Regions from separate parts of the Homo sapiens genome. Here all the other regions are linked to region 1. Evidence: promoter capture Hi-C in human tissues and cell types (Jung and others, 2019). All regions are on one chromosome and are shown on one strand. Each heading gives the region's core, a stretch centred on a gene start or on the middle of the fragment in contact. The rest is flanking DNA. Distances are from core to core; before and after follow the strand shown.

The links. Contacts are between HindIII fragments. The study calls those that stand out against the background at their distance.
Region 2: a contact is called between a fragment that was not itself captured here and the fragment with the promoter of ASH2L in region 1, in 2 of the 25 tissues and cell types used here (aorta and spleen).
Region 3: a contact is called between a fragment that was not itself captured here and the fragment with the promoter of ASH2L in region 1, in 2 of the 25 tissues and cell types used here (aorta and liver).
Region 4: a contact is called between the fragment with the promoter of ADRB3 here and the fragment with the promoter of ASH2L in region 1, in 2 of the 25 tissues and cell types used here (adrenal gland and bladder).

What each region holds. Positions count from the first base shown.
Region 1 is chr8:38,102,662-38,108,539 of GRCh38, forward strand. It overlaps ASH2L (ASH2 like, histone lysine methyltransferase complex subunit), which reads left to right and starts at 2,868. Exons shown (of 16, transcript NM_004674.5): 1 at 2,868-3,077; 2 at 3,717-3,783; 3 at 4,360-4,505. The coding sequence starts at 2,890. RefSeq lists silencers at 166-454, 2,636-2,725, 3,056-3,255 and an enhancer at 2,836-2,965. The HindIII fragment of the contact is 26,659 bases long and covers 1-5,878 here.
Region 2 is chr8:37,870,942-37,876,819 of GRCh38, forward strand. It overlaps RAB11FIP1 (RAB11 family interacting protein 1), which reads right to left. Exons shown (of 6, transcript NM_001002814.3): 3 at 3,574-4,381; 4 at 337-2,238. Among named protein-coding and RNA genes, the nearest start is that of BRF2, 24 kb to the left of the region's middle. The HindIII fragment of the contact is 6,711 bases long and covers 326-5,878 here.
Region 3 is chr8:37,910,088-37,915,965 of GRCh38, forward strand. No RefSeq gene overlaps it. Among named protein-coding and RNA genes, the nearest start is that of RAB11FIP1, 14 kb to the left of the region's middle. RefSeq lists enhancers at 292-791, 5,773-5,878. The HindIII fragment of the contact is 7,181 bases long and covers 1-5,775 here.
Region 4 is chr8:37,963,407-37,969,284 of GRCh38, forward strand. ADRB3 (adrenoceptor beta 3) reads right to left here and starts at 3,193. Exons shown (of 2, transcript NM_000025.3): 1 at 1,859-3,193; 2 at 1-833. The coding sequence starts at 3,063. The coding sequence ends at 812. RefSeq lists an enhancer at 2,192-2,926. The HindIII fragment of the contact is 25,598 bases long and covers 1-5,878 here.

The sequences.
Region 1 (5,878 bases), core at 1,618-4,117:
AAGTGCGGGGATTACAGGCGTAGGCCACTGCGCCCGGCCTATAATTTTTAACTGGTTATATTAACCTGACCACTTGGGTAAGGTGGTGTGTTCGCCCATTTCTGCACCGTAAAAACTACTATTTTCTACCAAGAGGAAAAAGAAAATAAATAAAAAATAAAAATTACTATTTTTTTCTTTTTTTTTTTTTTTTTGAGACGTAGTTTCACTCTTGTTGCCCAGGCTGGAGTGTAATGGCGCGATCTCGGCTCACTGTAACCTCGCCTCCCGGGTTCAAGTGATTCTCCTGCCCCAGCCTCCTGAGTAGCTGGGATTACAGGCATGCGCCACCACGCCTGGCTAATTTTGTAGTTTTAGTAGACACGGGGTTTCTCCATGTTGGTCAGGCTGGTCTCGAACTCCTGACCTCAGGTGATCCGCCCGCCTCGGCCTCCCAAAGTGCTGGGATTACAGGCATGAGCCACCGCGTCTGGCCATGTTATTTTCTTTTTCTACATTCTATTAGTTAGAAGCAAGTCACTGAGTCCAGCCCACACAATCAAGGGGAGGGGGGTATTAAAGAATTTGTGTGGAGGCATGATGGCTCACTCCTGTAATCCCAGCACGCTGGAAAGCCCAGGCAAGAGGATCGCTTGAGCTCGGGAGTTGGAGACTAGTCTGAGCAACATGATGAGACCCTGTCTCTACTAAAAATTAAGAAAATTAGCTGGGCGTGCCGGGAGCAGTGGCTCACGCCTGTAATCCCAGCACTTTGGGAGGCCGAGGCAGCGGATCACAAGGTCAGGAGATTGAGACCATCCTGGCTAAAAAACGGCAAAAACCCTGTCTCTATTAAAAATACAAAAAATTAGCTGGGCGCGGTGGCGGGCGCCTGTAGTCCCAGCTACTCGGGAGGCTGAGGCAGGAGAATGGTGTGAACCCGGGAGGTGGAGCTTGCAGTGAGCGGAGATTGCACCACTGCACTCCAGCCTGGGCGACAGAGCAACACTCCGTCTCAAAAAGAAAAAAAAAAAAAAGAATATTAGCTGGGCGTGGTGGCTCGTGCCTATAGTCCCTGCTACTCAGGAGGCTAAGGCAGGAGGATTGCTTTACCCGGGGAACTTGAGGCGGCAGTGAGGTATGATGCCGCCACTGCTGCACTCCAGCCTGAGCGACAGTGCGAGACTCTGTCTCAGAAAAAAAAAAAAAAAACACACAGGTGAAACCCCGTCTCTACTAAAGATACAAAAATTAGCCAGGCGTCATGGCGCGTGCCTGTAATCCCAGCAACTCGGGAGGCTGAGGCAAGAGAATCGCTTGAACCCGAAACCGCGAGGTGGAGGTTGCAGTGAGCTGAGATCGCGCTACTGCACTCAGCCTGGGCGACAAACCGAGACTCCGTTTCAAAAAAAAAAAAAAAAAGCCGTGCGCGGTGGCTCACACCTGTAATCCCAGCACTTTGGGAGGCCCAGGTGGGTGGATCACTTGAGGTCAGGAGATCGACACCAGCCTGGCCAACATGGTGAAACCCCGCCTCTACTAACAAAAATTAGCCGGGCGTGGTGACAGATACCTGTAATCTCAGCTACTCGGGAGGCTGAGGTAGGAGAATCGCTTGAACCTGGGGTGGAGGTTGCAGTGAGCCGTGATCGGGCCACTGCGCTCCAGCCTGGGCGACAGAGCGAGACTCTGTCTCAAACAAACAACAACAAGAAAACACAAAATTCTGCGACCATATGTTAAAACTGCTACAATACTACGTATTTGGGAGGAGATACTTAGATCAAGCATCCTGCTTCTCTTTGGAGTACCAACCCCTGATTTAAGTATTTATCATCAATTTTAAAAATGTAACCTGGCAACTCAGTTAGGTCTTTCTTCAATTTTGTTGAAAACCAATAATTGAGAACCAATTGGGAAATCAATATCTACGTATTTCCCATGGCGTCCAGTGGCCCAGAGATTCCTACACTATCGGTGGACACATCACAGTAAGATTAGACTGAGGATTGGCGAGGGGTGCGCCGTTCTTGTGTAAAGCGGGAGAAGAGTGTATTATCGTTAGGCAACATTTTAGGATATAGGATAAACACTGGTGTCCTGAAAACGTTCCTGGCCGCAACACTCTCAGAGGTTTGCATTCTCGAGTTTGGAGACCATGGCTCTGAAAGACTCAACTCACTCCACTGATGCCAGCCACCAGCTACTGTTGATGACTTCCCAAGTTCGTACTTTCAGTCCACACCTCTTCCTTTCGCTGGGCACCAAACTTGTCTACATTCCGAGTGCCCCGGCACACCCCGGGGCTTCGCTTTCCGCCTCTCACAGTAGGAAGCGGCGAGCCGCTTCTAGTGCCCACGCCGCTCCTCGGCTGCCCGGCCTGGGTTTTCCACCCTCGCCCCTGGAATCGGCCTCCCTAGATTCCCTTCCCTCTTAAAATCATTTGGAAACGGGCTCCAAGGGGCGACCCTGCGCAGAAAACCAAATTCCATCCGGGGCGGGCAGGGAGTGCTAGACTCCAAGGAAGACGTTTCCCACATTCGGTGGTGAGGAGTGTTTGGCGGCACGGCACGGCCAGCGCTCTCAAGGACCCTCTTCTGCGCAGAATATCCAGTCGTAGCCACGAAAATACGCCGCGTCAGTCCCTGACTCGAAAGGAAGTCCTCCAGAGAGCCGCACTAACCATCTAGCTTCCTCCACCTTCAGCCTGCCAGGCCCGCGGCCACCGCCGGCGCGGGAGGCCGGCCCACCTCTGCCCGCGCGCCTGGCCTTAAAGCGGTCGTGGAATTATGCTTCCTCAGGCAGGCGGTGGACGCACCGCGGGCTTTTTCTGTTTGAAGACTACAGCGTCACACAGCAACGCGCGCGAGAGAAGAGAGTATTCTCGCGAGAAGTCCAGGGGTGGCCGTGATGGCGGCGGCAGGAGCAGGACCTGGCCAGGAAGCGGGTGCCGGGCCTGGCCCAGGAGCGGTCGCAAATGCAACAGGGGCAGAAGAGGGGGAGATGAAGCCGGTGGCAGCGGGAGCAGCCGCTCCTCCTGGAGAGGGGATCTCTGCTGCTCCGACAGTTGAGCCCAGTTCCGGGGAGGCTGAAGGCGGGTAAGAGGTCCTGCCGCCCGAGGAAGACGCGGGAGGGAGGCCCGCCCCTCGCGAATCCCGCGGCTCCTGGAGCCCTGCCGCCCGCCCCCTGCGAACCCAGGCCCCGCCGCCAATGGCTCGCCCTGCCTCTGCGCCGCTTGGCCCGTCCCCTCTCAAGCATATCTCGGATAACGCCCCTTCCGCACCTTTCACGGGCGGTGGGAGCTGAGGCTCCTGTCGTTATCTCTGATCCTTGCACCCTGGCAGGAAGCTGGTAGCTCACACTTTAACGGGAGGCCTTCACATATTCCAGAAAAGAAACCACTTTGCAGTGCCAGACTGGAAGAAGTAACGGTCACTCTGAAAACAGGGTGGGAGAGCTGCCTCTCTTTGAACCTCTCCCAGGACCAACTCTAACCCAGGTAGATTTGACTGTAAAGGCCGGTTAGGCTTCCCTGTGCTCCGTGGGTCCGCGACTGTCTGACATGTCCACCTTCTCAGTATCCTGACAGTACCTTGGGCATCCAGTCTGAGATCAGGCTTAGCTGAAAAAGCTGCAGGAGTATGAAGTTCGGCTGTAATTTGATCATCATTTTTGGGAATAGGCATTTTGAGGTTTGTCTTGAGAATTCTTACTTGAGCGCTTTCATTATCTTATAGGGAGGCAAACTTGGTCGATGTAAGCGGTGGCTTGGAGACAGAATCATCTAATGGAAAAGATACACTAGTAAGTATTTTTAGTTGTTTGCAAGACAAAATAGGGTTTGTTTTAGTTATTTCTTCTTCTTCTTTTTTTTTTTTTTTTGTTGCGACGGAGCCTTGCTCTGTCGCCCAGGCTGGAATGCAGTGGCGCGATCTCGGCTCACTGCAACCTCCTCCCCCCGGGTTCCAGCGATTCTCCTGCCTCAGCCTCCCGAGTATCTGGGATTACAGGCATCTGCCAACACACCTGGCTTCTTTTTTTTGTCTTTTTAGTAGAGACGGGGTTTCACCATGTTGGCCAGGCTGGTCTCGAACTCCTAACCTCAGTTGATTCTCCCGCCTCAGCCTCCCAGAGTGTTGGGATTACAGGCGTGAGCCACCGCGCCCGGCCTTGTTTTTACATTTTTAAGCGAATCAAAAATACATTCAGGCCAGGCACGGTGGCTCATGCCTGTAATCCCAGCACTTTGGGAGGCTGAGACCTCAGGATCACTTGAGACCAGCCTGGGCAACATAGGGAGACCCCCGTCTCTTAAAAAAATAAAATAAAGTAAAATACATTCAAGTCAACTGATTTGAGTCTCGAACTGCTCTGACACAGGAAGGTGCTGGGGATACATCAGAGGTGATGGATACTCAGGCGGGCTCCGTGGATGAAGAGAATGGCCGACAGTTGGGTGAGGTAGAGCTGCAATGTGGGATTTGTACAAAATGGTTCACGGCTGACACATTTGGCATAGATACCTCGTGAGTACTTTTCATAGTTTTTGTGAGAATTGCTCGGTAAAATAAATCTGAACATGCTCAACAGTTACTTTGTGGGCAAAATAAATGCAAAGTATTTCCTATGTCTCCTAACCCCTATTCAGCAAGTAGGATGTTGAATCAGGAGTTGTTTTAATTCCCTTAGCATGTTATCTGCTTACTGAGGGCACAGCTCTGGTAGATACAATGGTGGGTATTGCCCCTCCTTTTGAGTTGACAACCTGGTTTGGAGACAAAAAAAAATGCAATTACAAAGTGTTATATAAACAAATTTAGAACAATATAAACCTTGTGTTGGTGTTTTGGATTTTTCAGAAAGGATATATGTGGATAAAGCCTGTTGTCCAAAATTTGAGATGACCCATGCTCTTTATGCCTGAACCATCCTTTTTTTCCTTTCTCATTGCTGCTGACTCACTCCTTTAGGTATATTGTCTACTCTCCTCAGCAAACCTATTTCCAATCATGTACCTCTTCTAGTGAATTAAAATCATATTGTGATTGAGAATGAAAGACTTTTTTCCTTATACTGACTGTCTGTTGGAATAATTGTACTGCTCGCTCTCTGTAATGTTCTTTATGGTTTGTATTATGCTAATACATTTATAAAAGACTATCTAAACATAAGGCTGCATTATCGTGAAATTAATCCACCTTGGGTGAGATTGTGAAGAAATACATATATGTGTGTGTGTGTGTGTGTGTGTGTGTGTGTGTGTGTATATGTATATATATATACATATATATATGTTTTCTTGTTTTTTTCTTGCGACTGGGTCTCGCTCTGCTGCCCAGGCTGGAGTGCAATGGCAGGATCACAGCTTTCTGCAGCCTCGAACTTCTGAGCTCAAGGGATCCTCCTGCCTCACCCTTCCAAAGTGTTGGGATTACTGGCATGAGCCACCACACCCAGCTTTCCTTTATAATCTGTTGTATACTTTCTAGTTAAAAGGTTAAAGTGGGTTTTAGAAATGCTGATGTCTTAATTAACATGTGACTTGTGATTTAGGAAAGAGTGTTTTTAAAAAGAAAGAAAAATACTGAAGGATCAGGAAGAAATAATTGATCTTGGTAGCAACATCTGCTGGGAAAACACACTAGCTAAGCAAGCCTGGTCTCTTAGAGAGGCCTAAGATAGGGCCACTTTTGCCAGAAAAATTTGTTTGGATAGACAGTTTAGGAAAGGAAGTTTACTAGAGAGATAACTGGGAGGAATTCAAGGAAGAATCAAATCACAGTTCAAAGTTTTGGTAGCTTTGGAGACAACAGTTTGTAACTGAATTTCAAAAGTTATATCTAAAGTCCAGTTAGATCCTATCAGTGGTATCAAGTTAAAAAAAAAAAAAGGTGGGGGG
Region 2 (5,878 bases), core at 2,431-4,930, 230 kb before region 1:
TTTTTGACACTGCTAGATACTACTACCACTCAATGCCAGTTAGTTCTGAGACAGTTAAGATACTGGTGGCATTGCGTTTCTGCAATGTGCGAGCTCCAAATCTGACCGTGCAGAACAATTCCTAAGCTATATTTACAGACTACTATTATGTTCTTGCTATAAACGCAGCAGTGTCTTGAGGTATTACCACCACAAGGGGCAGCCCTACCAGCAGGACAGTGACAGGTGGGTTGTCACATCAGACGTCTGTGTGGTTAGAAAGCCGTAACCTCTGCAGGTAGGAAGCAAAGGGGGACATTGCTCACATTTACATAGACAATCTCCCCCATCTCTCACCTGTGCTTGGCTGACCCAGTTCCAGCGCCTGGCTGAGCTGAGACTGGATGTGTCTCCGAGGGTGAGACCCAGGCCTGGAGGAGTGGCTTCCTCTTGCCAAAATTTTCAACTCTACCAGCGGAGCCCTCTGCTGTGGCTTTTTTTTGAGATTCTGCTGTGCTGGTGTGGTGAGTGTCAGAATGTGCAGAGCTGGGGAAAGAGTGTGTGACAGGAAAGATCTCAGAAGGGGAGGGGCTGGGTACAGGATTGTCCAGGGATGTGCCAGGAGGCGGGCTTGGACTCCCATTTCCCATCGGTTTTTCTTCCTCACCACCACTGGGGCCTGGCAGCTGTTTATCCAAGCTTGAGCTCTTGCCAAGATGTGGTTTGTGAATTCCGAACTCTGTGGTCTGCTCTGAAGGAGCTGTCACAGATGCCTGGGGTGCTTGCAGCCTGAAATCACACAGGCCCTCCCCCAGTACCAACCTATCTGCCTCGCCACTGGGCCCCTTTCCCCTCTCAGGACAGGGGACTACCAAGCCCAAGGACAAAGCTCCTATGTCCAGAGTTGACGACTTTGCTGTCTCTCCATCATCTTCAACCTGATCTCCGTCATCTTCAACCTGATCTATTCTTTCATCATCCGATGCGACTTCAGGAATGGAAGGAAGGCTTAAGTTCAGATCGGCCATGATTGGAGATTTAAAATCTGAGACCAACTGAAGGTCACTCAAGGGGTCAGACAATAAACCTTCGTGGTCACTGGCTTTGCTCTGATACTGAGTCACAAGGGCATCCTCTCCCTCCATCCTAAAGAGTGGAGTGTCTTTCGCTGAGCTTGCTTCACTCATGGGGACTTCGGAGAAACTCTCCTCCTGGGAGGGGAGGAGGAGGTGATCCGCTGGGGAGGCTGGCGCACCACACGTCGCTGGCCCAGGTGTGGTCACCGATTCCCTTTCTGAGTCCTCTGCGTGGGGAGACTCAGGAGGCTCTCCGTCAGACGCGTTTCCAGCAACAGACCATGCAGGGTTCAGCTCCTGGGGACAACTGCTGTGTCCTTCCACCAGCAAGGCAGCCCCCGCCACTGCCTCTTCCGTGAAGAGCTGCTCAGAAAATGACACACGCTTCTTGGTTTTCTTCTGGTCCTTGCGGAGGTTCAGACCCATCTCTTCCAGCTTCCGCATCATGGAATCAATGGAAGGGACTGATGCTCCCATGGGAAGAGGGGGCGCCACTTCTTCAGCTGCATCCCTGGCTTTGCTCTCCACAAGAGACCCAGCCTGACTCTCCAAGTCTCTGTCTCCTCCTGCTGCAAGCTCCCCAACAGGGCTCACAGCTCCATCACTGCTGAGTGAAAGGGCAAACGGTACTTCCTGGGCTTCTCCAGATGATGGGCTGTAGTCTTGTTTTTTGCAGGGGAATCTCGGAAGTTCTTCCTCTTGTCGCCCTGTTTCAGGCTGCTCTGGGAGAGACTCCTCCAACTCAAGGCTGCTGGTGTTCTTCTCTGTGCCTGTCTCACGGGTCCTGCCCATCAGAGAATCTTCTGTCCCTTTATTTGCTGGAAAGGATGGCTGTTTGAAAAGTGATCCCAGGGCAGAAGAACCAGAATTTGGAACCGGTGTTAAACTCTCAGTTTGCAACTCTGCCTTAGGGAGCAAGGGTGGTCCTTCAGACTTGGCCTGGCCCCTGTCTACGAGAGGCCAGCTTTCAATTGGAGTGGATGTGGAAATGGGAGCTGCTATGGGAGATGAGAGAGAGGAGAAGACAGAAGGACTCTCAGAGGACTGTGTGTCTGCACCATGTCCCAATTCAGAGGGGACAGATGCCTGGCCAGAGCTAGAAGGAAGAGGAGGAAGAGAGGAAGGGGAGTCAGTAGGGGAAGGAAGCCTGGCTGTGGGTTGCGCCTCTGGAGACACTTCCAGTCTGCAAAAAGGACAAAATAAAATCTGCAGGTCAGTGCAGATGCATCACGAGAGACAAAGAAAATACACAAAAACAAGTCATTCACCAGGGGAGAACGTCTTTACACGTGGGGCAGTACCTTAAGAAGTTAAAAAAGGAACGCTAGCCGGGCGCGGTGGCTCACGCCTGTAATCCCAGCACTGTGGGAGGCCGAGGCAGGCGGATCACCTGAAGTCAGGAGTTCAAGACCAGCCCAGCCAACATGGTGAAACCTCATCTCTACTGAAAAATGCAAAAATTAGCCGGGTGTGGTGGTGTGCACCTGTAGTCCCAGCTACTCGGGAGGCTGAGGCAGGAGAACTGCTTGAACCTGGGAGGTGGAGGTTGCAGTGAGTTGAGATCGTGCCACTGCACTCCAGCCTGGGCGATAGAGGGAGACTGTCTCAAAAAAAAAAAGGAACACTAACACTTAACATACACAACAGACACTTTTATAACCAAGCAGATCCGTCACACAAAAGTCTGTTGCAATAGAAATGAAAAGATCCCGGTAAAGCAATAGCCTCTGGTTTCTTGTGGTGATTAACACAAGGCCCGAGCATTTGATTATTACAGGACAAAATGCACCTAAAAGGTTTAAAGTGGTTAAAGATGTAACACAAAGCAACAGGCACAGATAAGTTTAAGAGGAACAGTGTGTATGTGTGTGTATATGTGTGTGTGTGTGTGTGTGCATGTCAAAGTAAGCAGAATCTCTAAAAAAAAAAATCTCACTCCCCAGACCGCAGAAATATTGTCAGTATGAATGTGATCACACAGAAAAGCAGAAGTCCCCAAGGCCAGTCCCCAAGGCTTATGCCGGCTCTTACAACAAGGGGCAGAGTGGACACAAAGAACCGTCACTGTCACTTGAGAGAGGACCGAGGGTCTCTCATACCAGAAACCAATGCCAAAAGGCAAGGAGGCAGGATAACATCTGGCTCAAAGGGAAATGTGAGATAAGAACTTCGAAAACACAGGTTCTGCATACACTACAACCCAAACTCAGTATTCCCAACTTGCAACACCCACAATCTGCTACAAACCACTGCGTTCCACTGAGATCTGATAAGCTGACTGAAAGGACAGACCATGCCTGCTGGGCAGTAGCTCTGAGCTGGGAAACATCACTGCAATTTATACAGGGCAGGCCAGGCTGGCAGTAGGGACTGGTTAAAAAAATAATTTAGACCAGCAAACCTTTGGCATATATGGGTACTATGATATCATGGGACCCACAAGAGCTGGTCTAACGTAAGCCTGAAAACCACCAATGGCAAGGCAGAAATGCCCTGCACGAGAAGAGCCAAAACTCACCGGGGCTTGACAGCTCTGGTCTGGGGAGCCCTCGGAGAGGAAATTGGAGGTCTCGGTTCAGACTTGGACTCTGGCTCAGCTTCTGGTTCTGTGATCTGCACATCTTCAAAGAGGTTCAGGGAGCTGCCCTGTCTGGAGACAACAGCTGCAGTATCTTTCTCAGATCTTCTCACAAGGTCTTCAGCAGGCCCCGATGCGTCCTCCCCCGGCTTAACCCCCATCAGCATGCCTTCCTTCTCCCTCCCTGGGACCGTGAGAGGGTTTTCACCTTCACTGCCCTTAGCCACATCCTTCTTCCCCGTCATCAGAGACAGCAAAGAGGACCTCCTGCTCTCTGGCTTCTTGCTCTCCTTAGCTTCTTTTGTGGCCTCTGAGTTTGCGGGGGCCATGTTTTCCCTGAGGTCCCCACTGACCAGTGGGGCAGGTCGGTAGGACGGCAGGGTCATAGACTTCAAGGAGTCCTTGGTGGAAGATTCGGAGAGCTGCCTGTCAGAAGACAGCCCACCTCCTTCAGCAGGCTCCTTCCAAGACCCAGCCGCCAGGTTCTCTGTAGAAGAGAACAAATGCTTCTTTCTGAAGCCCTTGGGGGATGGGGAGGAGGACGGGCTGCTATCCTTGATCTCACCCTTGGCTTCTGGCTGCTCCAGGTAAACATGGTTCCCATTGATGCAGACATTAGAGCGGGAAAGGACATCATTCTTAGACCGAAGGCCACCAAGAAAGGAAAGTCCTTCCTTCTTGGGAAGGGTAAAGTTGACCTGGTTCAGTTGCTTAAGATCCGTACTCGCTGTTCTCTTGTGAGACATGACTTTGGGAAGAAAAAGAACAGAAAGGGGATAAGATGTTAAACGGGTGGTTTGCAGTGTAGGGGCATCTGTCAACGTCTGGATACATTTCTGGTTGCCACAACTTGGAGGGGGTGTGCTGCTATTCGTATCCAGCAGGTAGAGGACAAGGATGATACTGAACATCTTACAACGTATAGCACAGCCCCCCACGACAAAGGCCTGTCTAGTCTAAACTGTCCACAGTGCTGAGGTTGAGAAACTCTGGGTTAAACCAATGAAAAGGGCAGCACTCTTGGTAGAGTAGCAGAATCCGGCCAATGGGAGGGATTTAGACATTGAAATTGAAGTTCAAAATACATAATTAACTCAGAGCTAAAGGAAGCAGATTCCTTGGCTTCTGATAAGGCTATATCCCACGAGGGTTGAGCACATCACAGGAACTCAATAACTACCTGATGAATTAATGAAATATCAGAATTACCATAAGGTTCCATGGTTTTACCCTTAAAAAAAAGAAAAAAAAAACTTGGAAGACACTCATTCTGTTAGCTCTAAAAGCTTGTACTAGTGGACATCATTTATAGAGCCAGGAACTCTGGAAAAGGAATTTATACATTCTTAGAAACCAGAGGGTATAATCCCAGCACTTTGGGAGGCCAAGGCAGGTGGATCACTTGAGGTCAGGAGTTCAAAACCAGCCTGGTCAACATGGTGAAACCCCAACTCTACTAAAAATACAAAAATTCACCGGGTGTGGTGGCACGGACCTGGAATCCCAGCTATTCGGGAGACTGAGGAAGGAGAATTGCTTAAACCCAGGAGGCGGAAGTTGCAAAGAGCCAAGATCGCACCATTGCACTCCAGCCTGGGTGACAGAGCAAGACTCCATCTCAAAAGAAAAGAAAAGAAAGAAAGGAAGGAAGGAAGGAAGGAAGGAAGGAAGGAAGGAAGGAAGGAAGGAAGAAAGAAGGAAAGAAACCAGAGGGCTTAGAAATAGAGAGGGCATCTCAGCCATGGGCAATGGTTCACACCGGTCATAAGAGCCCTTTGAGAGGCTGAGGCAGGAGGATCACTTGAAGCCAGGAGTTTCAGACCAGCCTGGGCAACATAGTGAGACCTCATCTCTAAAAAAAAAATTTTTTTTAATTAATCAGGTGTGATGATGCACACCTGTAGTCCCAGCTCCTCAGAAGGCCAAGGTGAGAGGATTCCTTGAGCCCAGGAGTTGGAGGCTGCCGTAAGCTATGATCGCGCCACTGCACTCCAGCGTGGGCAATAGAGCAAGACCCTGTCTCTAAAACAAACAAACAAAAAATATTTTAAAAAAAGAAACAGAGAGGGCATTTTTTTTTTTTTGAGACAGAGTCTCACTCTGTCACCCAGGCTGGAGTGCAGTGGCACGATCACAGCTTACTGCAGCCTCTACTTCCTGAGCTCAAGCAATCCTCCCAGCCTAGCCTCCTGAGTAGCTGGGACTACAGGAGTATGTCATCACATCTGGCTAATTTTTATATTTT
Region 3 (5,878 bases), core at 935-3,434, 190 kb before region 1:
AATAGGAGGTGTTTGGGTCATGGGGGCGGATCCCTCAAGACTTCATGACAGCTTGGTGCAGTCTTGGAAGTAGTGAGTAAGTTCTCGTTCTGTAAGTTCCTGTGAGGGCTGATTGCGTTTTTTTTCGTTTCGTTTGTTGTTTGTTTGTTTTTCTTCGAGACGGAGTCTTGCTCTGTCACCCAGGCTGGAGTGCAGTGGCACCATCTCGGCTCACTGCAACCTCCGCCTCCCAGGTTCAAGCAATTCTCCTGCCTCAGCCTCCCAAGTAGCTGGGATTACAGGCTCCTGCCACCATGCACAGCTAATTTTTGTATTTTTAGTAGAGACGGGGTTTCGCCATGTTGGCCAGGCTGGTCTTGAGCTGCTGGCCTCAAGTGACCCACCCGCCTCCGCCTCCCAGAGTGCTGGGATTACAGGCATGAGCCACCGCGTCCAGCCTGGGCTGGTTATTAAAAAAAACAGACTGCTACCTCCCCTCTCTCTCTTGCTTTCTCTCTCACCCTATGGTCTCTGCACACGCAGGCTTCCGTTTGCCTTCTGCCATGAGTGGAAGCAGGTTGAGGCCCCCATCAGAAGTAGATGTTGGTGCCATGCTTCTTGTATGGCCAGAAGAACCAGCAGCCAAATGAACCTCTTTTCTTTATAAATTACCCAGCCTTGGGTATTCCTTATAGTAACACAAGCAGATGAAGACATTTAGTATTGTCTTTTGCATTTCACCCTTCTGGCGGCTGTGCAATAGTTTTAATTTTTATTTCCCTGGTGACTAATGAGGCTGTATGCTTTTTCTTAAGCTTTTTCACCATTTGGATATGGTTTTCTCGTGATGGGCCTACTCATATCTTTGGCCCATTTTTCTTCTGTCTTTGTATTGATTTGTAGATGTCATTACAAAGATAGAGATATCAAGTCTATAATGTAATGCAAGTATCCTCTCCCACTCTGTGGCATGCCTTTTCACTCTCTTAGTGGTGTTTCTTGATGAAAAGCAGTCTTAATTTTAATGACACCCAAATGATCAATCTTTTCTTTTATGGTTAGTGCTTTAAGTCCTTTCTAAGAAATCATTGCTGTCTCAAAGTCATGAATATATTCTCCTTTATTGTCTTATAAAAGCATTTTGGTTTGCCTTCCACCTTTATATTAGCAATCCACCTAATTTTTTGTATTATTCAAAGTTAATTTTTTTGAGACAGGGTCTTGCTCTGTCACCCAGGCTGCATGATCATGGCTCACAGCAGCCTCAACCTCCCAGGCTCAAGTGAGCCTCCTACCTCCGCCTCCCAAGTGTTAGTAGCTGGGACTATAGGCATGAGCCACAATGCTTGGCTAATTTTTGTAGTTTTTGTAGGTGTAGGGTTTCTCCACATTGCCCAGGTTAGTCTCAAACTCTTGAGCTCCAGTTATCCACCTGCCTCGGCCTCCCAAAGTTCTGGGATTACAGTGTGAGCCACTGTGCCTGGCCAAAAGTTAATTTAATTTTATTTTTTTTGAGATGGAGTCTTGCTCTGTCACCCAGGTTAGAGTGCAGTGGCTCCATCTCGCCTCACTGCAACCTCTGCCTCCTGGGTTCAAGCAATTCTCCTGTCTCAGCCTCCCGAGTAGCTGGGATTACAGGCATGAGCCACCACGCCTGGCTAATTTTTGTATTTTTAGTAGAGATGGGGTTTCGCCATGTTGGCCAGGCTGGTCTCGAACTCCTGACCTCAGGTGATCCACCCCCCTCGGCTTCCCAAAGTGCTGGGATTACAGGCGTGAGCTACTGCGCCCAACCCAAAAATTAATTTTTTAAAAAACATAAAATTATGAACTTTCATACAGACATAAAAATAAACATGTTAAAATTTTATTACACTTATTATTAAGAAAAACTAGTAAGGTGTTACAACCAGTTCAAAGGTGAATCCAAAGAATAGACGCATTTAGAGACCAGAAATATTGAAATGAATATGCAAATGGAGGCAAAGCTTGTTTTTCTGGAGGAGGGGGCAGGGAGTGTCCCTCCACTAGACAATTTGCTTTTATGAATTTTGCATTGCTTTCAATTGTCTACCAGACACAGAGCTGTAAAATAGCTATCATAGAATCAAAATCAGATAATCCAGAGAATGTACTATAGATAATGCAATTTTCCACTGAAGCACAAAATTTTCCCTACCATATAGTATCTGTTGGGATCAAGATTCATTTTTCCCCATATGAATACTGAAGGAACCCAAAAGATTTCACTCCGAAATATACTTTGACATTTAAAAAAAATTTTTTGAGACAGGGTTTCACTCTGTCACCCAGGCTGGAGTGTAGTGGCACCATCACTCACTGCAACCTCCGCCTCCCAGGTTCAAGTGATTCTCCCGCCTCAACCTCCTGAGTAGTTGGGAGTACAGGCGTGCACCACCACACCTGGCTAATTATCATTATCATTTTTTTTTTTTTTTGAGATGGAGTCTCGCTTTTTTTGTCGTTGCCCATGCTGGAGTGCAGTGGCACAATCTTGGCTCACTGCAACCTCCGCCTCCTGGGTTCAAGCGATTCTCCTGCCTCAGCCTCCCAAGTAGCTGGGATTACAGGCATGAGCCACCACACCTGGCTAATTTTTGTATTTTTAGTAGAGATGGGGTTTCACCATATTGGCCAGGCTGGTCTTGAATACCTGACCTCAGGTGATCCGCCAATCTCGGCCACCCAAAGTGCTGGGATTACAGGCATGAGCCACTGCGCCAGGCCTAATTTTTGTATTTTTAGTAGAGACAGAGTGTCACCATGGTGGCCAGGCTAGTCTCGAACTCCTGGCCTCAAGTGATCCACCTGCCTTGGTCTCCCCAACTGTTGGGATTACAGGCATAAGCCACCGGGCCCGCCTTAAATTTTTTCTGAGACAGCATCTCTCTCTGTCCCCCAGGCTGGAGGGCAGAGATGCGATCACAGCTCACTATGGGCTCCAGCAATCTTCCCACCTCAGCCTCCCAAAATATTGGAGTTACAAGCATGAGCTACCACATCCGGCCTAGTCTGACATATTTTGAGATGGTTGTTCAGAGGACCTGTGGACAGAAGGAGTCCTACCAAGCTGTCTTTTTCTTTTTTTTTTTGAGATGGAATTTCACTCTGTTGCCCGGGCTGGAGTGCAGGGACACCATCTAGGCTCACTGCAACCTCCCCCTCCTAGATTCAAGCAATTCTCCCTGCCTCAGCATCCTGACTGGCTGAGATTATGGTGCCCTCCGCCACACCTGGCTAATTTTTGTATTTTTAGTAGAGATGAAGTTTCACCATGTTGGTCAGGTTGGTCTTGAACTCTTTTTTTTTTTTTTTTTTTGAGACAGTTTCACTCTTGTTGCCTAGGCTGGAGTGCAATGGCGCAATCTCGGTTCACCGCAACCTCCACCTCCTGGGTTTTCAAGCAATTTTCCTGCCTCAGCCTCCCGAGTAGCTGGGATTACAGGCATGTGCTACCACACCCAGCTAATTTTGTATTTTTAGTAGAGACAGAGTTTCTCCATGTTGGTCAGGCTGGTCTCGAACTCCCGACCTCAGGTGATCTGCCTGCCTCAGCCTCCCAAAGTGCTGGGATTACAGGCGTGAGCCACCGCGCCCGGCCTTGGTCTCGAACTCTTAACCTCAAGTGATCTGCCTGCCTAGACCTCCCAAAGTACTGGGATTACAGGGATGAGCCACCGCGCCCAACCCCAAGCTGTCTTTTGTCGGGGAGATTTGCATCTGTTGAGAATCTGCGTGATGCAGCCAGGCTTTCTCTGAGATCCTCCCTTGCCTGGATCCAGGAAAGATGAACTGAGAGTCTGACACCATTAAAGGTCTGAAAGAAACATTTACCACCTATTCTCTCTGAAGGCTCCAACCTGTGAGATCCCCTCCATATAACAAGACACCTTTGCTAGCCAGTCCTCTCTTCTCTCCCTCCCATAAACTATTTTGCCATGAATCCAAGCCCCTATTCTTTCTGTAACTTCAAGATAGTATAAAAGCATCAATGACATTTTTCTTTGAGATCTTATATTTTGATAAGATTCCTGTTCACGTTAAAAACATTTGTGGGCCATTTCTCTTCCTAATCTGCCTTTTGTGAGTTGGTTTTTCAGCGGGTAGAGGGAAAGTTTTTCCTCAGCTCCTACAATATCCCATAGACCCAGTGCCATTTATTGAATGACCCAGCTTTCCCCTATGGGCCCGTCAATATCATGTTTCTGAACTCTATTCTGTTCCCTGGTCTATTTCATTATTACTGAACCAATACCATACTGTCTTAATTACCACAGTTTCATGACACATCTTAATATCTAGTAGTGTAAAGTCTTCAGCTTTGTACTTCCTCTGTCAAGATTTACCAGCTATTCTTAGACCTCTGCATTTCTTTTTTTCATTTTTTTCTTTTTTCTTTCTTTCTTTTTTTTTTTTTTCTTTTCGAGACAGGGTCTCATTCTGTCACCCAGTCCAGGGTAAAGTGGCACAATCTCGGCTCACTGCAACCTCATCCTCCGGGACTCAAGCAATCCCCCTGTTTCAGCCTCCCGAGTAGCTGGGACTACAGGTGAGTGCCACCGCGCCCAGCTAATCTTTTGTATTTTTGGTAGAGACAGAGTTTCACCACGTTACCCAGGCTGGTCTCAAACTTCTGCATTCAAGTGATCCAGCCACCTCAGACTCCCAAAGTTCTGGGATTGCAGGCATGAGCCACTGCGCCCCACCTGGAGTTTTGCATTTTCATATGCATTTTAGAATCAACTAGCTAGCCACAGTGGCTCATGCCGGTAATCTTAGCATTTTGGGAGGCTGAGGCAAGAGGATCAGTTGAGCTCAGGAGTTTGAGATCAGTCTGGGCAACACAACGAGATCCCATCTCTACAAAAAAATTTTAAAAATTAGCCAGGCATGGTGGCACATGCCTGTGGTCCCAGGTACTCGGGAGGAGGATCGCTTGAACTCAAGATTTGGAGGCTGCAGTGAGCTATGATTATGCTACTGCATTCCAGCCTGGGGGACAGAGCAAGCCCTATCTCTAAATAAATAATAATAATAAATAAAGTTTCAGTCTTATGAGTTTAGAGCTTTAGCAGCTCTGCTTCTAAAGCATCAAGGGAAAGTTCATGAGTCCATAATGACAAGATGGTTAAAACATCCCACTCCACCCCACCGGAAAACTTGGTGGTAACAGCAGCAACCCTAGAAAAATGCCCAGGGGAGACATCGGGAATCCCAGGGGCCCAAAGTCATGGCTATCTGATTCTGCTGCCTTTTCCCATAAGGAGTTCATCTCTCTCCCACCAGTCTTGGAGGCTTCTAGATATTATAGTCCCTGAGGGATGTAGTAATTTTCTTACATCAGCACAAGGTTCAGCAAATATCAAAACATCTAACCTTTTAGAGCTGTGTTTTTCTATTTATTTGTACCCTGTCCTGTTTCAAAAAAGATTTAAGGTTGTTTACAACACCACATAAATGAAGTTAAACAACATAAATTAGAACACCATGAGAAAGGTGAGGCCAAGGGAACACAAGGGTAGGGACACAGAGGTATGCTAAGAGTGAACACCAGCGTGCAGTGAGGTTCCACGGGCTTTGGAGTGCAGGGCTTTTTAAAACTTGCTGAAGCTGCCAAACCAGTGTTGTGTTCTCACATCCCAGAATCCTAGCATTGTTGGGGGCAAAGCCCAGTGAAACAATCAAATACTGATCCCCAGGGTAGAAGGAGACCTCCTCCCTAATCCCACGCTCTAACCCACACAGAAAGCACCACAGTTCTGGAACCTGTGTAGTTCACTGGATAAAAATATGAAATTTAAAAATGCATGTAAGGAGAGGTTTTTCAAGTGTTTTGTCTGTTTTGCTGTGGAGCCCCAGAAATCTGAGAGCAATTCCA
Region 4 (5,878 bases), core at 1,943-4,442, 140 kb before region 1:
GACAGACTTTTCATTTTTTGTTTGATGAAGATTAGGAAGAAAAGAGTGAGGATTAGGCCTAATTTACTGCCTCTGTCAAAAGCCAGCGCAGAGTAGAAGGGAAGGGAGTAAGTGGATTATGAAAAGAAAACAAACGGAGGGAAAGGGGGCCGAGGATGAACTGCATTCAGTGATATTTATTTATCTGATTGCAAAAGGAAAAGAAGGGATCTGTTCTAATGGTTCACCTTCTTATGAACCCTGGAGCTCCCAAAACCCTGGCGAAGTCCTTCTGACACTGCTGTGAGGTAGATCGGAGCCATTCCATGGCTAAAGTGAGAGAGGCCACTGCTTGAGAGCAGTAATAAGGGAACCAGAGATAAAACCCCAAATCTTGGTCTTTTCTACCCTGCTGCTCTCAGCCTGGGCCACAGAGCCTGGAGAACACTAAGGTCTCATCAGGGTTTGGGTGGCAGAAGGAATGGAACCAGGGGAGCTCTCTTTGCCCTAAGCACTCACTGACTGCACAGGCAAGCCGGGTGATGGGTGCCCCTACCAAAGCCAGCCTGCTGCTCCACGGCACCTGGACACTACCACTGAGGGAGGAGTGAAGTTCAAGGCTGGGGTTTAGAAAACATCTCTCAGACAGAGAGCAAGAGGATGGTGAAAACCCACTTGGTAAGGATCCCTCCTTGGGTCACATGGCCCAGTCGTCAGGTTCTGGAGGGTAGAGTGTCACAGCCGGGGAATCCCATGGGACTCATTCTGAACAGAGGCCAGAGGTTTTCCACAGGTTCTGATCAACAGAGTTGTTGCTTCTTGTCCTTCAGGCCTAAGAAACTCCCCAAGAAGCCCTGGGAAAAAAAGTGGAGATAATAGACCCTGGGGTGAAAGGAGCAACAGGTGCACTGAGGGGAATGACAGAGATCAGAGACCCTGGAACGCATATTTAGTTACACAAAAACGCCAGGGCACCACCCAGCCACACACGCCCCACCCCATCCCTACTCCAACCCAGCCCAGGGAGCGGGAGGGCACACATCTGCACTCACAGGCTCCTCACTCACAACTGTACTTCATACCGGAAGTGGATTCTCACCTCCACAGCTGTCAAACCTTTGAGAAAACCCAGAACTGAGGCCGAGGGCTTGGGGGGCGGGTGGGGGGGCACTAGCCCTGCCTTCAAGTCCGAGCCAGGTCTAGTGATGGCAAGAAATCGGGGGAGGGGGGCAAAGAACTGAGCTGGAAAACCAAAACTAGAGCCGACCCGGCGCCCTGGCTCCGGCCTGTAATCCTAATGCTTTGGAAGGCTGAGGCAGAAGGATCACTTGAGGCCAGAAGTTCAAGACAAGCCTGGGCAACATAGCAAGACCCCATCTCTACAAGAAATTTTAAAAATAGCTGGGATTGGTGGGGCTCGCCTGTAGTCCCAGATACTCAGGAGGCTGAGGTGGGAGGATCGCTTGAGCCCAGGAGCCAGGAGTTCAAGACTGCAGTGAGCTGAGATCGCGCCACTGCATTCCCGCGTGGGCGACAGAGACGAAACCCTGTCTCTATTTAAAAAAAAAAAAAATCCCTAAAGCCGACCAGGCGAGGCGAGAGTCCTCGGGACACCGCAGCGCTTTCCGGTGGCGCACCTTGGGTCCTTGGGTGAGGAACGACGGCCCGCTCGCCCTCCTTTGCTTCTACCCTAGTGACTGGATCCGGAAAGAAAAGGACCCTGGGTCCCATTTTGGTTCGCTACTCCTCGTTCCCTTTTCTCTCCAAGCAAAGCCATCCCACCTTCTCTTAATAAACTCCACACTCAAAAAGTTGACCCACGGACACATCGCATGCTTCCCGACCCTGAGCCGCCGGTCCCTCTGCCCCGGTTACCTACCCGTCGAGCCGTTGGCAAAGCCTGGGCTGCGCTGGGCTGCTCCGGGCCGCAGGAACGCCCGAGGGGAAGAGGGCCGGGCGGGCGGCGGCGCAGGGCTCCGGAGGCAGGCGACGGCCGCAGCGGCACAGAAGACGGCGGAAGGCGCTGCGAAAGTCCGGGCTGCGGCAGTAGATGAGCGGGTTGAAGGCAGAATTGGCATAACCTAGCCAGTTCAGGGCAAGGAAAGCCGGGCCCGGGACTAGAGAGGGGCCCCCCAGGGCGCGCAGCACGTTGGCCAGAAAGAAGGGCAACCAGCAGAGAGTGAAGGTGCCCATGATGAGACCCAAGGTGCACAGGGCCCGGTGTTCCCGGAGAGGCAGGAGGCGCGCGGGCCGCCGGCCGCAGGCGGGCACCCCTTCGGGCGGAGCGCACGTCCCCACCGGGGCCGGGGCCAGAGAGCGCGACGGCGCCGGCGGAGACTCCTCGGGCGGAAAGCGGCCCAGCTCCCCGCGCAGCAAGCGCAGCTGGCGCGTAGCCACCACGAAAACCCGCGCGTAGACGAAGAGCATCACGAGAAGAGGAAGGTAGAAGGAGACGGAGGAGGACAGCAGCACGTAGGGCATGTTGGAGGCGAAGGCACAGCAGCGCGGGTTGGAGTGGCAGCGCTGCGCCTCGGCGTCGGCCCCTACGCGCCACCACTGGCTCATGATGGGCGCAAACGACACCGCGGCCGACACGACCCACACCAGGACCACAGCTGTCCGGGCGCAGCGCTTGGTGACCAGTGCGCCGTAACGCAGCGGGTTGGTCACAGCCAGGTAGCGGTCCACGGCCAGGGCGCACAGGGTTTCGATGCTGGCGGTCACACACAGCACGTCCACCGAGGTCCACAGCTCGCAGCCAGTGGCGCCCAACGGCCAGTGGCCAGTCAGCGCCAAGGTGGCCGCCGGCGGCACCACCAGGAGTCCCATCACCAGGTCGGCTGCGGCCAGCGAAGTCACGAACACGTTGGTCATGGTCTGGAGTCTCGGAGTCCAGGCGATGGCCACGATGACCAGCAGGTTGCCTCCCACGGTGGCCAGCACCGCCAGCGCCAGCAGGGCCCCGGCTAGGGCCGCCTCCCACGGAACCCCTGGCAGCCCACTGGTGTTGGCGGTATTGGGCGCCAGGGTGGGGAGGTCCGGCCATGGGGCAAGAGAGCTGTTCTCGTGAGGCCACGGAGCCATCCCCGGGTCGCGCGTGGGGCGGTAGGGAAAGAAGGAAGGAGGGGGTCTCCCAAATCACCTGGCTCAGGGGAGGGGACAGCAAGGCATGAGAGCGACTTCCCCAGCCTGGGCCATCTTCTCTAGCTGTCCCAGCCAGAGCGCTCAGCCTCCCCCCACCCCAACTCCCTCGGTGCCACCGCTCTTGGGGGAGGAGTAGCGACGCTTAAAGGGGCAGCTGCCTATAGTCTGGAGGGGCCTCTGGAGCCGAATTGGAGAGTGGGGAGGATGGCCAATGGGATGCTCCACGTTTCCTTTAGCTAAATCTGGAGGAAGGGACACCGTGGTTCCTCTGCCACCATCTGTCCACCCCTGCCGTGGCCAGGCTCCTGGACTCAGCATAGCACTCCCTGGGCACTGGCTTCCTGGAGCCCTGCACCTCCTTTCCCAGAAGTTCCCACAGCAAGGCAGGGGAAGGAGAGAGGAGAGCGCTCCCATCCCCACCCTTTATGTATCAGAGGCAAAGGTAACCCGCTGGAGTCAAGCAAAGGATTCACAGGAGCCCCGCATCCACTTGGGTGGCCTCCCCTAAGGTATTTTAAATTAAGTAATAGGGCTCAGCCAGTATCTCCTCTCCCAAGACCTCAGCTTGGTGAGATCTGTCCCCTTTCCCTTCTGTTTCAGTTACCTTCTCTTTCCTTCTAGCTTTTTGTTTTTTTTAATATTTTCAGGTACTGAGGAAATTTACCATATTTCAAGTCTCTCTCTCTCTCTATTTTTCCCAGGCTGGCTTTGAACTCCCGGGCTCAAGCCACCCTCCTGTCCCAGCCTCCTGAGTAGTTGGAATTGCAGGCGTGAACCACTAGGAGGCTCAGGAGTCTTTTTCTTTTTCTTTTCTTTTTTTTTTTTTTTTTGAGACGGCGTCTCGCTCTGTCACCCAGGCTGGAGGCTGGAGTGCAATGATGTGATGTCTGCTCACTGCAATCTCCACCTCCCGGGTTCAAGCGCTTCTCCTGCCTCAGCCTCCCAAGTAGCTGGGACTGCAGGCACCCGCCAGCATGCCCAACTAATTTTTATATTTTTAGTAGAGACGGGGTTTCACCATGTTGGCCAGGATGGTCTCGATCTCCTGACCTCGTGATCCGCCCGCCTCGGCCTCCCAAAGTGCTGGGATTACAGGCGTGAGCCATCGCGCCCGGCCAGGAGTCTTTTTCATTGCTAGCTCTGGATTTGCATTTGGATTTGGCACTATGTAGTCTGGGATGCTGAAGAATTTCAATTTCTCCATCTTCCCCACTCTGCACTGCCCCTTCCATGCACCTTTCCACCTAGAGATTTTCTAGATAGCCCCTTCTCTTAAAATCTTTCTGCTATAAAGACATATTAAAAATGGATGAATCAACAGGTGGGCGCGGTGGCTCACGCCTGTAATCCCAGCACTTTGGGAGGTCGAGGTGGGCAGATCACCTGAGGTCAGGAGTTCAAGACCAGCCTGAACAACAAGGAGAAACCCTGTCTCTACTAAAAATACAAAAAAAAAAAAAAAAAATTAGCCAGGTGTGGTGGCGCATGCCTGTAATCCCAGCTACTCAAGAGGCTGAGGCAGGAGAATCTCTTGAACCTGGGAGGCAGAGGTTGCAGTGAGCCGAGATCACACCATGGCACTCCAGCCTTGGCAACAAGAGCGAAACTCCATATCAGAAAAAAAAAAAAAAAAAAAAAAAAGAAAGGATGAATCAAGAGGCTGAGAGGAGAGGATCGCTTGAGCCCAGGAGTTCAAGGTTACAGTGATCTGTGATCATGCTACTACTGCACTCCAGCTTGGAAGACGGCAAGAAGCAAGACCCTATTTTAAAAAAAAAAATGGGTAAATGGGTGACTGGGTATGAGGCAGGTCCACCATCCCCCCAAACTATACACAACTCTTCCATTGCCATCTCCCCAATGGTAAGTGTTCGCTCCACTTCCTTTAGGTTTTTTGTTTGTTTATTTGTTTTTTGAGATGAAATTTTGCTCTTGTTGCCCAGGCTGGAGTGCAGTGGCACAATCTCTGCTCACTGCAACCTCCACTTCCCAGGTTCAAGCAATTCTTCTGCCTCAGCCTCCCAAGCCTCCCAGCCACCCAAGTAGCTGGGATGAGCATGTGCCACCAAGCCCAGCAAATTTTTGTATTTTTAGTAGAGACGGGGTTTCACCATGTTGGCCAGGCTGGTCTCAAACTCCTGACCTCAGATGATCCACCCGCCTCGGCCTCCCAGAATGCTGGGATTACAGGTGTGAGTCACCGTGTCCGGACTTCCTTAAGGATTTCATTCATTAACTTTTAAAAACTAGAAGGCGTTGAGTTGAGGAATTCATGCGTTCATTTTTGAGCGTGTGTGGTGGCAGGCCTGGTGTTTCAAAGCCTCTGAAGTCTCTTAGGCGGTTCCACCAGAGGCTTCCCTCTTCCTCTTCCCTTCTCCCTGCCCTCACTCAAGACTTGCAAGGCTTCCTTTTTCCAGCCCCTGCTCTCTCAATCTCTAAACCAGTTCCTCTCAGATTGCGTACGGGGAGGGGGGCGCTGGAAAATAAAGCCCCAGGGTTCAAGTGGAGAGGCAGGAAGATGTGACACCTTATCAGGGACTATCAGGACCTGATTCTTGAGCTATCATGCTTCCTCCTCTGAAACAATGGGACAAAGGGGGAAAAATTATCATGGAAAATGCCTCCAGGGCTATGCCCTGGCAGGTCTCTGAACAGCTCTATATTTCGAGAGAACACTTTATAGTCACTGGTATGAACAATCCCTCTGGGAGGCTGAGCTGGGGGCTGGGAGTTAGGAAGGTTGCAGGGGAATTCA